2 separate regions of the Homo sapiens genome follow, and region 2 is linked to region 1. The links are contacts of gene promoters, found by promoter capture Hi-C in human tissues and cell types (Jung and others, 2019). All regions are on one chromosome and are shown on one strand. The core of a region is centred on a gene start or on the middle of the fragment in contact, and the rest is flanking DNA. Distances in the headings are between cores, read along the strand shown.

Region 1 (5,966 bases), core at 526-3,025:
GTGTCTCCTTTTCTATTTTTTGTAAAGAGCACTCCTAACTGCAAAGCAGTTTGAGCTGTGGAAAGAGGAACAAGGTCAAAGTCCTTGATATGATAGTCTACATCTATTATTTTATTAAAATGACAGCTCAGTAGGCATCAGACTACTTTCCAGGCATCTGAATGAGGCAAAGGTGGAAAATGGAAAGGGAAGGGTTTAACTGAGAGATACAAGGCACTCTGAAATCCTTCAAGAAAAAGGAGCTGAGATGTGGCAGTTATGACAGTCATGTGCTATGGACTGCTCAGAGCCTTCTTTCTGAGGCAGATTCTATCAGCCGCTAATGTTAAGGGCAAATCTTACTCCTAAGGGCCATGTGCTAATGTGGGCACCGTTTTTCTTACTGCTACACATTCCCAACTGTTTGCCACAGTCAAAAGAACCAAAAATCCCAATAGCAGAGCTATCACATGCTTTTCCCCTTCCTCTCCCAAAAAATGTCACTTCAAAGGTCCCTAAAGAGCCCTTGATTTGCAATAACCTGCCATCAAAGTAAAATGGCAAAAGTCCACAACCCTGACATATACTCCCGTACTAGGGAGGAAATGGTGGTACTGACCTTTTCCCCCTTTCCTGTCCAGTCCAAGATCCAGAACCCAAGTTATCCGTTGTGCTCTTGCCAGAGCAATTTTAAATTGCCAATTTACTGAAGGTGAACTAAACAACTGTCATTTGCCTCCTTTGAACCCAATTAGGGTGGTGGTCGTCTGTCCTAGATCATGGGCCCCTCCAAATTCCTGATGCTTAGTAAGTTGATGTTTCATTAAAATGACAGGCAGGCCCCAATTATTCTGAGTACTGTATGATAGGCAGACTTCCAGCGAAAACACTCTAGTCCCTGTACTAGGTATGGATCGGGAAGTGCTCTTCTCCAAAGCATCCCATATTTTACAATTTTAGAAAGACAAAAATATGTGTATCATGGTCATCAGTATTACCATATAAGCATATTGTGCAGAAAACGGTACTGCATCTAAAAGATAGGCAAAGAACCTTTCTATATTGCAGACCCTGGAAGGCTGAGTTTGGGCGGGAAGAAAAAGCTAAGGTGTTTGGAGCTGGCTTACTTTTCTCCTCGAGGTTCTTCCTTTCGTCACCACTTTCAGAGCAGCACTAGAAGAAGAACAGATGTGACAAGCACATTAAGATTAAAGTCGTGGATGGAAAGCATACGGGGCTCCCAAAGGGCACCCACTGGAGGCAAGAGAGGTTCCAGACGCTCTCCCACTTTCTGAGCGACCAGGGCCGTCCGAATCAGGTACCTCAAAGTGCCACTGTCCTGGTGCCACCGCCACCTTCCCAGGAGGTGTGTGTCACCTCCGCAGGACCTGGAGTTACCTTGCCTGCTCACTAGAGCCACCTCCCTAGAGAAATCTGTCATCTCACCAGGGCCGCCAAAGCCACTTCACGGGGACTACCGCCTCCTCTAGGAGGTCTTACAAGGGCCTCTAATCTAAGCCGCAGGAAGCACCTTCACAAGCTTACAGGGCCACCGCACCGGGACTATCTCCCCCGGGAGGTCTGTGCCACCTCAATGGGCCACCAATGTCCCCTCCCAGGGACGCCAGGGCCGTCTCACCGGGGCTGCAGGAGAGGCGCCGATCTCGCCGGCTGGTAGCATCTCGCCTCCGCGCGAGTCCTCGGCTCCATTCGCAGCCAGCGTGGCCTGTGGAGTCTGGCTAAGGCCAGCGACACACTCACTACCCAGCCTCGGAGGCCGTAGGACTGAGTGCCACAGCGACTTCCTCTCGATGTCTCACTGGTTTCTTCCTCTCAGCCCAGAGAGGCCCTGCCCGTGCAGCCGCCGGCCGTGCTCTGTTCCTCCCCCTCCTGACCGGAGGTCGGAACGGCCACTCAGGAAGCGGGCACCCTCCCCTATGGAGCTCCAGAGAAGGGATTCGCTCACTCCACCGCGGTAAAAGTCCCCTCCACTTTATTGAAGCTCTTAATGATGGAACTTTAAGATATCCCTCTCCCAACGCCTTAAATTCAATATGAATAATTTAAATTTATATTTTAGGCAATATCCAGATGTTCTGAGAGTGTGGGGGGCTTGTTGACTAGGAGCTTCGGTGCAGGGTTATTTGGTTCGAATATTTAGTTGGGGGTTTCCAATGAATGTCAGTATCTTTAGATATTTCTTTTAACGTTGGTCAGAGTCCCTAGAGATGAGCTTCTGATTTCCTGCCTAGAGGGTGTAGAGGTGGTTATAAGCGTTCTGGGAGCTGAATGAAGAGAACAGAGCATCTAACATGTGTTTCGCCCAAAACCCTGTCTTTTACCAGGGAGGAGGAAAGGGAGCTACCTAGCAGCAAGGGTTGTGTAGAGGACCTGTGGACTTGACAGCCTCTTAAACAAACTAACACGGAAGGAGTACCATAGAGACCATAACAAACAAGGGGGGGGGAAAGCAACCCTCAGAGGAAAAAGAAACCACACGGTGAGAAGAAAAATCAAATACATGTGCACAGAGATATATAATCGAGCTACAAATTACTATTGCAAGCATAAAACAAGGATGGCTGGGCGCTGTGGCTCACGCCTGTAATCCCAGCACTTTGGGAGGCCGAGGCAGGCAGATTACGAGGTCAGGAGATCGAGACCATCCTGGCTAACATGGTGAAACCCCGTCTCTACTAAAAATACAAAAAATTAGCCAGGCGTGGTGGTGGGCGCCTGTAGTCCCAGCTACTCAGGAGGCTGAGGCAGGAGAATGGCGTGAACCCGGGAGGTGGAGCGTGCAGTGAGCAGAGACCGCACCACTGCACTCTAGCCTGGACGACAGAGCAAGACTCCGTCTCATTTAAAAAAAAAAAAAAAAACAAGGATACTATTTTTTAAATTACCTATTATGGGAACATAATCGTATATATTTATAGTGTACATGTGTGTTTGTTTTTTTTTTGCTCAGGCTGGGGTGCAATGGCGTTATCTCTGCTCGCAGCAACCTCCGCCTCCCAGGTTCAAGCGATTCGCCTGCCTCAGCCTCCCAAGTAGCTGGGATTACAGGCATGCACCACCACGCCCGTCTAATTTTGTATTTTTAGTAGAGACGATGTTTCTCCATGTTAGTCAGGCTGGTCTCGAACTCCCGGCCTCGGGTGAACTGCCCGCCTTGGCGTACCAAAGTGCTGGGATTACAGGTGTGAGCCACTGCGCCCGGCCTTTTTTTCTGGGGCGGGGCGGGGGACGGGTAAAGAAATTTTAATGAGGATTCAAGGTTTGTAGGGAAGACACAGAGGACCGGCGCTCAGCCCCAGCCTCCTCACGTGTACATGGCTCCATGGAGGTTCTCCAGTCGGTTCTGCTGCTGCTGCTGTTTTCGAGCCTTATCTCGTCTGTGTTCCTCATAAGTGTAGTCATCAGTGGGCAGCTCATGGCGGCACAAGGGACAGGAATTTGTCTTGCTTAGCCAGGGCAGAATGCAACTGGAATGAAAAAGGTGTTGGGAAGCATCTCAATGGCAGTCTCCTCCTCAGATTCCAAAAGATACACGGGGCACTTGAGCTCAGCCTTGAGAGCCTCTGATGACTGTCCTGGAGAGGTTCTCAACCACAATCTTGGCAGCCGGTGGAGGCAGGTGGTGGTCCCAATCTACTACCAACCCCAAGTCTTCAAAGTCCATCCTATTCAAAAGTGACCTTACGAGCTCCAGCACCATGTTGGTTCGAGTCTCCTGCTTGAGGGTCCAACGGCTCACAGTCGTGTTCATCGATATAGGACGCCATGGCTGCCCAGCCGTCTGACATGTGATGTTTTGATACAGGTATACAATGTGTAACTATCAAATCCGAGTAACTGGGGTATTGATCATCTTGAGAATTTATCATTTCTTTGTGTTAGGAACAGTCCAATTCCACTCTTTTAGTTATTTTAAAATATGCAATAAATTATTAACTGTAGTCACTCTGTTTTATTGTTGTTGTTGTCGTCATTTGTTTTGGTTTTGGTTTTTTTGTTTGTTTTTTGAGACAAGTTCTCCCTCTGTTGCCCAGGCAGGAGTGCAGTGGTGCAGCCATAACCCACTGTAACCTCAAACTCCTGGGCTCAAGGGATCCACCCACCTCAGCCTCCTGAGTAGCTAGGACTATAGACTGGCACCACCATTCCTGGCTAACTTTTTTTTGTTGAGACAGTGACTCGCTATGTTGCCCAGGCTGGGCTCTACTCCTGAGCTCAAGCGATTCTCCTGTCTTGACCTCCCAAAGTGCTAGGATTACAGCCATGAGCCACTGCACCTGGCCCCTAACTGTATTTTTGGACCCATTAACCATCCCCAATTTATGCCTTCCTCCCTGCTACCCTTTCAGCCTTTGGTAACAATCATTCTACTCTCTATCTCCTTGAATTCAATTTGTTTAATGTTAAGCTCCCACATATGAGAGAAAAGGATACTATTTAAAAGGAGCATTGGCTGGGCACGGTGGCTCCTGCCTGTAATCTCAGCACTTTGGGAGGCTGAGGCAGAACAAATTGCCTGAGGTCAGGAGTTCAAGACCAGCCTGGCCAACATGGTGAAAGCCTGTCTCTACTAAAAGTACAAAAATTAGCCAGGCCTGGTGGTGGGAGCCTGTAATCCCAGCTACCCAGGAGGCTGAGGCAGGAGAATCTCTTGAACCCAGCAGGCAGAGGTTGCAGCGAGCCGAGATTACACCACTGCACTCCAGCTGGGCAACAAAGCAAAACTCTGTCTCAAACATAAATAATTAAATAGATAAATAAATGAATAATAAAAGGAGCACTCACTTGTAAATGGGGAGGGTAAAAATAAATAAAATAAGAAAAGCATTCAGAGATGAAAAAATATGACAGCAGAAATTAAAATTTCAAGAGTGGAAAGATAGGCCAAGTGCAGTGGCTCACGCCTGTAATCCCAACACTTTGGGAGGCCAAGGCACGTGGATCGCTTGAGGCCAGGAGTTCGAGACCAGCCTGGCCAACATGGTGAAACCTGGTCTCTACTAAAAATACAAAATATTAGCTGGCCATTGTGGCACGTGCACCTATAGTCCCTGCTGCTTAGTAGGCTGAGGAACAAGAATTGCTTGAACCCAGGAGGCTTTTAATTTCTGCTGTCATATTTTTTGTTCTCTGAATGCTCTTTTTATTTTATTTATTTATTTTTATCCTCCCCATTTTCACAAGTGAGTGCCCCTTTTATTATTTATTATTTGTTTGTTTGTTTCTTTGAGACAGAGTTTCGTTCTGTTGCCCAGGCTGGAGTGCAGTGGCACGATCTTGGCTCACTGCAACCTCCGCCTCTGGGGTTCAAGTGATTCTTCTGCCTCAGCCTCCCTAGTAGCCAGGATTACAGGTGCCCGCCATCATGCCCGCCTAATTTTTGTATTTTTAGTAGAGATGGGGTTTCATCACATTGGCCAGGCTGGTCTTGAACTCCTGACCTCAGGTGATCTGCCCACCTCAGCCTCCCAAAGTGCTGGGATTATAGGCATGAGCCACTGTGCCTGGCCTTTTCTTTGTTTTGTTTTGTTTTTTGCTTTTTTTTCCTAGAACATTTATCAACATTTATCTTCCCACACTTTGTTTGTTTGTTTTTATTTTGAGACGGGGTCTCACTCTGTCACCCAGGCCGGAGTTTATTGGCAAGATCTTAGCTCACTGCAACCTCTGCCTCCCAGGTTCAAGTGATTCTCCTGTCTCAGCCTCCCAAGTAGCTGGGACTACAGGTGTGCACCACCACACCTGGCTAATTTTTGTATTTTTAGTAGAGATGGGGTTTCACCATGTTGGCCAGTCTAGTCTCAAACTCCTGACCTCAAGTGATCTGCCCGCCTCAGCCTCCCAAATTGCTGGATTACAGTTGTGAGCCACCACGCCTGGCCAAAAACTGGAATTCTGTACTTAATTAGTGAACTATGAATCAAATGTGAGGTTAGAATAAAAATGTGGGGTTTTTTTTAACACTC
Region 2 (5,603 bases), core at 458-2,957, 320 kb after region 1:
TCCGAAAGAAATAGATTTAACTTTGTGTAGCATTTTATTTCCTAGCAAATTAACTTCAAATTCTTCACCCCAGGGTGTCAAAATCTGGTCTCAACCTTTCTCTAGCACTTCTGCCAATATTCTCCTTTGGGTACCTTGTGTGCCGGCAGAAGTGGATGAGCCCTTTCTTGCTGCCATACCTTCTCCTGCTCAGGCCATCATGTCCTCCTGCCTAGAACGCCCTTTCCTAGCTAGATCTATTGACACCTTTTTCTTCGTCATAGGCCTCTTCAATTTTCTCTCCTTTCTTTGAGAATTTTTAGGCACTCAGCCAGCTGGAGAGAACATGTATACCTTTCCACATGTTTTGTTTTTGCTATTGTATCCCCTGGGAATTATACAGGAGACTGGAAATTGGATACATTGAATATGCCTTGAGTTAATTAAAGAAGTAATGTTATCAAGCTACGTTCTGCCTTGTTTTATGCTCTAATTTTTATTTCTATCTGATCTATCTGTTAGATTCCTGGTACCATGAGAAAAGACTCATTTTTTTCTCATTTTAGCAGTAAAATAGTTTGAGCTTTGTAAGTATTTCTTGAACAAGTAAATAAGGAATATTCTCTATACTTGGGATAATCCTGCAGAATTTGGAACTGTGGGTTAGAATCACAAGATTCATGACACAAGGGAAGGAGAAAATCAGTTCTGAGAGTATCAGTCTGCATTGGTGGGATGCTTCCACTGGTGGGGCTTTAGTCCTGCTCTGTCAGGTATATGGATTTGATACATTTCAGGACAGTCTTCATTTGTCAGATACAGTTGTGCTGTATGGCACAGTGTCTTCTGTGTCTTCTGTGAATGCAAGAGAGAATAATTTATAGTATTTGGTTTCATGGGTGCTAGTCTCAGCACCACTGTATGTTTTGAATTTCTATTCCGCTTAATTAGGTAAGTCACTTTTTATGTTCAACTTTAAATCTTTTTTTTTCTCACCAAATACTGCCTTTGTCATATTGCCTTGTAGAAGTATGTGATAATTAACTGTTTGTAACCTTCTCAAGAAATCTCTTAACTAATCATGATTATAAAATACATAGATTTAGAAGCAGAGGGTTGTTAGGTGGTGGGATCGATGTTGACCTTTGCAGTTAGGATAGTCAGAGATGAACAGAGAGGAATGGGAGGAACTCCAGATATGCCAAAAGGCCTGTAGCAGTATCGTGCGTAATGTATCAAGGTGTATTTATTGGTCACAGCTGGAACCCTGAATAAACAGTTTTATTGTCACCACATACCAGAAGAGTGGGGAGGTGAGGATTAACCTTTATTGAATGCCTACCATGTACACAGTTACCATGGCAGGGGATTTATGTGTCATCTCTTTTAATATTTACAACACTCTAATGTGCATCAGAAGCCTAGAGAAATGGTCACTGGCTTGAGTTCTCATGGATTGGTAAGTGATGGAACAGGTATTCAGCCTAACCTAGAGCCTTGTTACCAGAAAGCTGTACATTTGGACTGTGGCTTGTATCTTGACTCTCCAGCCCTAGGATAATTAGTTGCAACTTTACCATGACTGTAACAGTTATTTTGTTGTTGTGGTGGTGTCTCTCTCTCTCTCTCTTTTTTTTTTTTTTTGGAGACAGGGTCTCATTCTGTTGCCCAGGCTGGAGTACAGTGGTGCGATCTCGGCTCACTGCCAACCTCTGCCTCCCGAGTTAAAGTGATTCTCCTGCTTCAGCCTCCTGAGTAGTTGGGACCACAGGCGCGTGCCACCATGCCCTGCTAATACTTGTATTTTTTTGATAGAGATGAGTTTTCACCATATTGGCCAGACTGGTCTTGAACTCCTGAAAGGAGTTTTTGGGGGGTGATAAGAATCTTGAAAAAATTACCTCCTTTCCTTCATCTCACCAGTCACTGAGTTCCTTTTCCTGGAGACAACCATTATTGGCTTGTTGCTCCATCCAGTGCTTAGGATGTCTGTGTAAAACAAATGATACATAGCATACACAGTGCTCTGCATCTTTTTATTCATCAGTGTGTATATCTTTCATATTAATACATGTAGAAGTGTTTCATTATTTTTGCATAACAACTTTATTAAAAGATTAATTGCACACCATGTAATTACCCATTTAAAGTATACCATTCAGTGGTTTTTCAGTATACTCAGAGTTGTGCAACCATCAACCACATAATTTAACTTTTTTTTTTTTTTTTTGTAGAGATGGGGTCATGCTCTATTGCCCAGGCTGGAGTGCAGTGGCTATTTACAGGTGTGATCGTGGCATATTATAGCCTTGAACTCCTGAGCTCAAGTGATTATCCCATCTCAGCCTGCACAGTAGCTGGGACAATCAGCTTGTGCAGCTGCACCCAGCCCTCTTAATTTTATAACTATTTTATCACCCCCCCAAAAAACTTCATACACTTGAGTAGTCACCCCTATTTTCTGTACCCCTCCAGCCTTACGCTGTTACTGATCTACCTTCTGTTTCTATAGATTTGTCTATTGTAATCATTTTATACAAATTGAATCATACATGTGGTCTTTGGTGGCTGGCTTTGATTTATAATACTTTAATGCTGTCAGGGGTCATCCATGTGGTAGCATCTATGAGTACTTCATTTCTTTTTATTGTTGAGTAATAGTCTGTTGTATTGGATATACCACATTTTAATTTATCCATTCATCAGTTAGTGGATGTTTGGGTGGTTTCTACTTTAGGCTATAAGAAAGTGTGGCTGTGAGTGTTCATGTACACGTTTTTGTGTGGACATGTTTTCATTTCTGCAGAGTATATGCCAGGAGTGGAATTGCTGCATCATAACTCTTTTTTACTTTCTGAGATACTGCTAGACTGTTGTCCAAACTGGCTGCACCATTTTCCATTTTCATCATCAATACTTGTGGGTTCTCTTGTTTTGTACGTCACTGACGTCTCGTTATCTGTCTTTTTGATTATTGCCATCCTAGTAGGTGTGAAGTGGTATCTCATTGTGGTTTTGATTTTTTCATGTTTCTGATGGCTAGTATTGTTGTGTCTCTTTCCTAGGAGTTTTATAATTTTAGCTCTTATATTTAGGACTTTGATCCATTATGAGTTAGTTTCTGTGTATGGTGGGAGGTAAGAATTTAGCTTTATTCTTTCACATGTGAATATTCGGTTGTTCCGTCCCCATTTGTTGAACAGACTATTCTTTCCCAATTGAATTGTCTTGGCAATCAGTTGGAAATCAGTTGACTATAAATGCAAGGCTTTATCTCTGGACCCTCAATTCTGTTCCATTGGTCTTCATCCTTATGCCAGTACGACATTGTCTTGATTACTATAGCTTTGTAGTAAGTTTTGAAATTGGAAAGTGCGAATCCCCCAGTTTTGTGTTTTTCTTTTTCATGATTGTTTGACTATTCTGGGACCTTGCATTTCCATATGAGTTTTAGGAATGGCTTGTCAAATTCAGCAAAGAAGCTGGCTGGGATTTTGATAGGGATTTTGTTGAATCTGTAGGGGGCATTTTCCCATATTGGCAAACAGTATTAAGTCTCCAATCCATGAATATGGGATGTCTTCTGTTTATTTAGGTCTTTAATTTCAACAAGATATTGCAGTTTTCATAGTACGTTTTAAACTTCTTTTGTTTAATTTATTTCTATGTACTTTATTATTGTGACTAGAATTGTTTCTTCTGCCTCATCCTTTTTGAGAGTTTTGTATGGTTGTGCCATAATTTTATCATAATGTTATTAACAAGTTTCCTATTGATAGACATTTAGATCCCAATATATTGCTGTTTGCAGACATTGCCACAGAGTGTGTGTATCACTAAGGTGAATTCTACTAAAGAGAACTACTGAGCTGCAGGGTATCAGATATTGGAATCATCTGTGAAATTTAAAATGGCTATATACTGACTGTTTATCATTTTACTGCTTATTTTAAAACTTACAGTAAGGTATTTAAAATAAGCTGTATAAAAAATGTTCTAAACTCTTTTTCAGCTAACCTTACTACTTATTAAAAATAGTGATATGCTGGAAGAGGCTCATGCTCCTTAAAAAAATGCCTAGAGCAGTGCTACAGCATCTAGAGCCTGCAGCATTACTGTCCAATATAACTTTCTGTGGTGATAGAAATGTTCTATATCTGCACTGCCCATACTGTGCCATAGCCACCAGCCATATGTGACTACTGAGTGCTTGAAGGAGGATGACTGAATTTTTAATTTTATTCCATTTTAATTAATTTGTCTTGTTGCTACCATATTGTGTAACACAGGTTTAGGATTTCCCTTATTTCCTGTGTTCTAAATTACTTTAGAAGGTAGAAAGTTGACTGCATTTGAATTTTGTTGATCCATTATATATTAGTAGTTGTGTATGCCTTTAGATCTAAAGCTTGTGGAAGTTTGCAGAAGGCTTGTGTAAAGTGGTACATCTTACATTATTTCCTGAATAGCATGAGGCAATCGTTAGTTGTTATAGCAACTTTCACCAATATAAGTCTTAGTAAACAGTTCCTTTTTTGTGACATTTTATTCACTCTGCACCTAGCTGGCTTCAGATTGTCTACAAACATAGCTTTTAGATAGAAGAGCGTATGGGTCTTTAGTTTGCTTGTTCTTCTTATATGTATATCTTATCCTAATGTAAAAGGTAGGCTTACTTTTGTATATGTATGTGCTCTAAAATCTGTATTTGACACTTAAAACTTATATTGGCAATTATAGTAGGGGTCCTTGACTATAGATTATAATGTTGGTGGCTTGTTTAACTTTGTTCTTCGGCTTTGAACTGGGCTCTTCCCTTGGCTCTTTTATTCCCCAGTTTCTCCCCAGCACTCTTACATGCTTGGAAAGGCTTTGGCTTCCAGCTGCATGGTCATGCTTCAGTATGCTTCAGTTTCAATCACCTTTGCTTCAATTTGCAGCTCAAACCTTTACTTTTCAGCTATAGATTTTATATATCAAGCAATCCCTACCGTATTCTATGCTGCTTGGTATCCCACTTGCCTGTGAAACTCAGAGGAGCTAGAGCCGGTTACTTTTCTCTAAAACCCCTTCCCTTCTTCATCCACCTGCTCTATTCTCTGTCGAAATGAATGGTACAGTATTTCAGACCAGAAATGAAGAGTCAAACATCCACTTCTAGCAAATGAATTAGAGTTGTCCTTAGGTATTTGTGGGAGATTGGTTCCAGGATCCCATTCGGATACCAAAATCCATGGATGCTCAAGTCCTTGATATAAAATGGTTTAGTATTTGCATGTCACCTGTGCACATGCTCCTATATACTTTCAGTTATGTCTAGATTCCATCACCTAGTATGGTGTATATACTATGTAAATAGTTGTAATACCTAATTGTTTATGGAATAATGACCAAAAAAAGAGTCTGTACATGTTCAGTACACATGTAGCCATCACCCCATGTTTAGGATCCATAGTTGTTTGAATCCATGGATGCGGAATGCATGGATACAGAGCAACAACTGTACTGAGTTCTGAGTTCCAGTTTTTAATCATCTCTGTCCTGGACTAACAATTGCAGCGTTTTCCCATGAATTTTCTTTCTTCTTGCTTTTATCCTTTCTACCTGTTCTACACTCTAATTTC

The links. Contacts are between HindIII fragments. The study calls those that stand out against the background at their distance.
Region 2: a fragment that was not itself captured here is called in contact with the fragment with the promoter of RINT1 in region 1 in 2 of the 25 tissues and cell types used here (lymphoblastoid cells and spleen).

What each region holds. Positions count from the first base shown.
Region 1 is chr7:105,528,010-105,533,975 of GRCh38, reverse strand. RINT1 (RAD50 interactor 1) reads right to left here and starts at 1,775. Exons shown (of 15, transcript NM_021930.6): 1 at 1,619-1,775; 2 at 1,107-1,152. The coding sequence starts at 1,660. It also overlaps the pseudogene LOC100131785. RefSeq lists enhancers at 1,003-1,579, 1,425-1,604, 1,695-1,994, 1,580-2,157, 2,445-2,494. The HindIII fragment of the contact is 3,792 bases long and covers 139-3,930 here.
Region 2 is chr7:105,212,676-105,218,278 of GRCh38, reverse strand. All of the region lies in intron 2 of SRPK2 (SRSF protein kinase 2), which reads left to right. Among named protein-coding and RNA genes, the nearest start is that of SRPK2, 170 kb to the left of the region's middle. The HindIII fragment of the contact is 9,081 bases long and covers 1-5,603 here.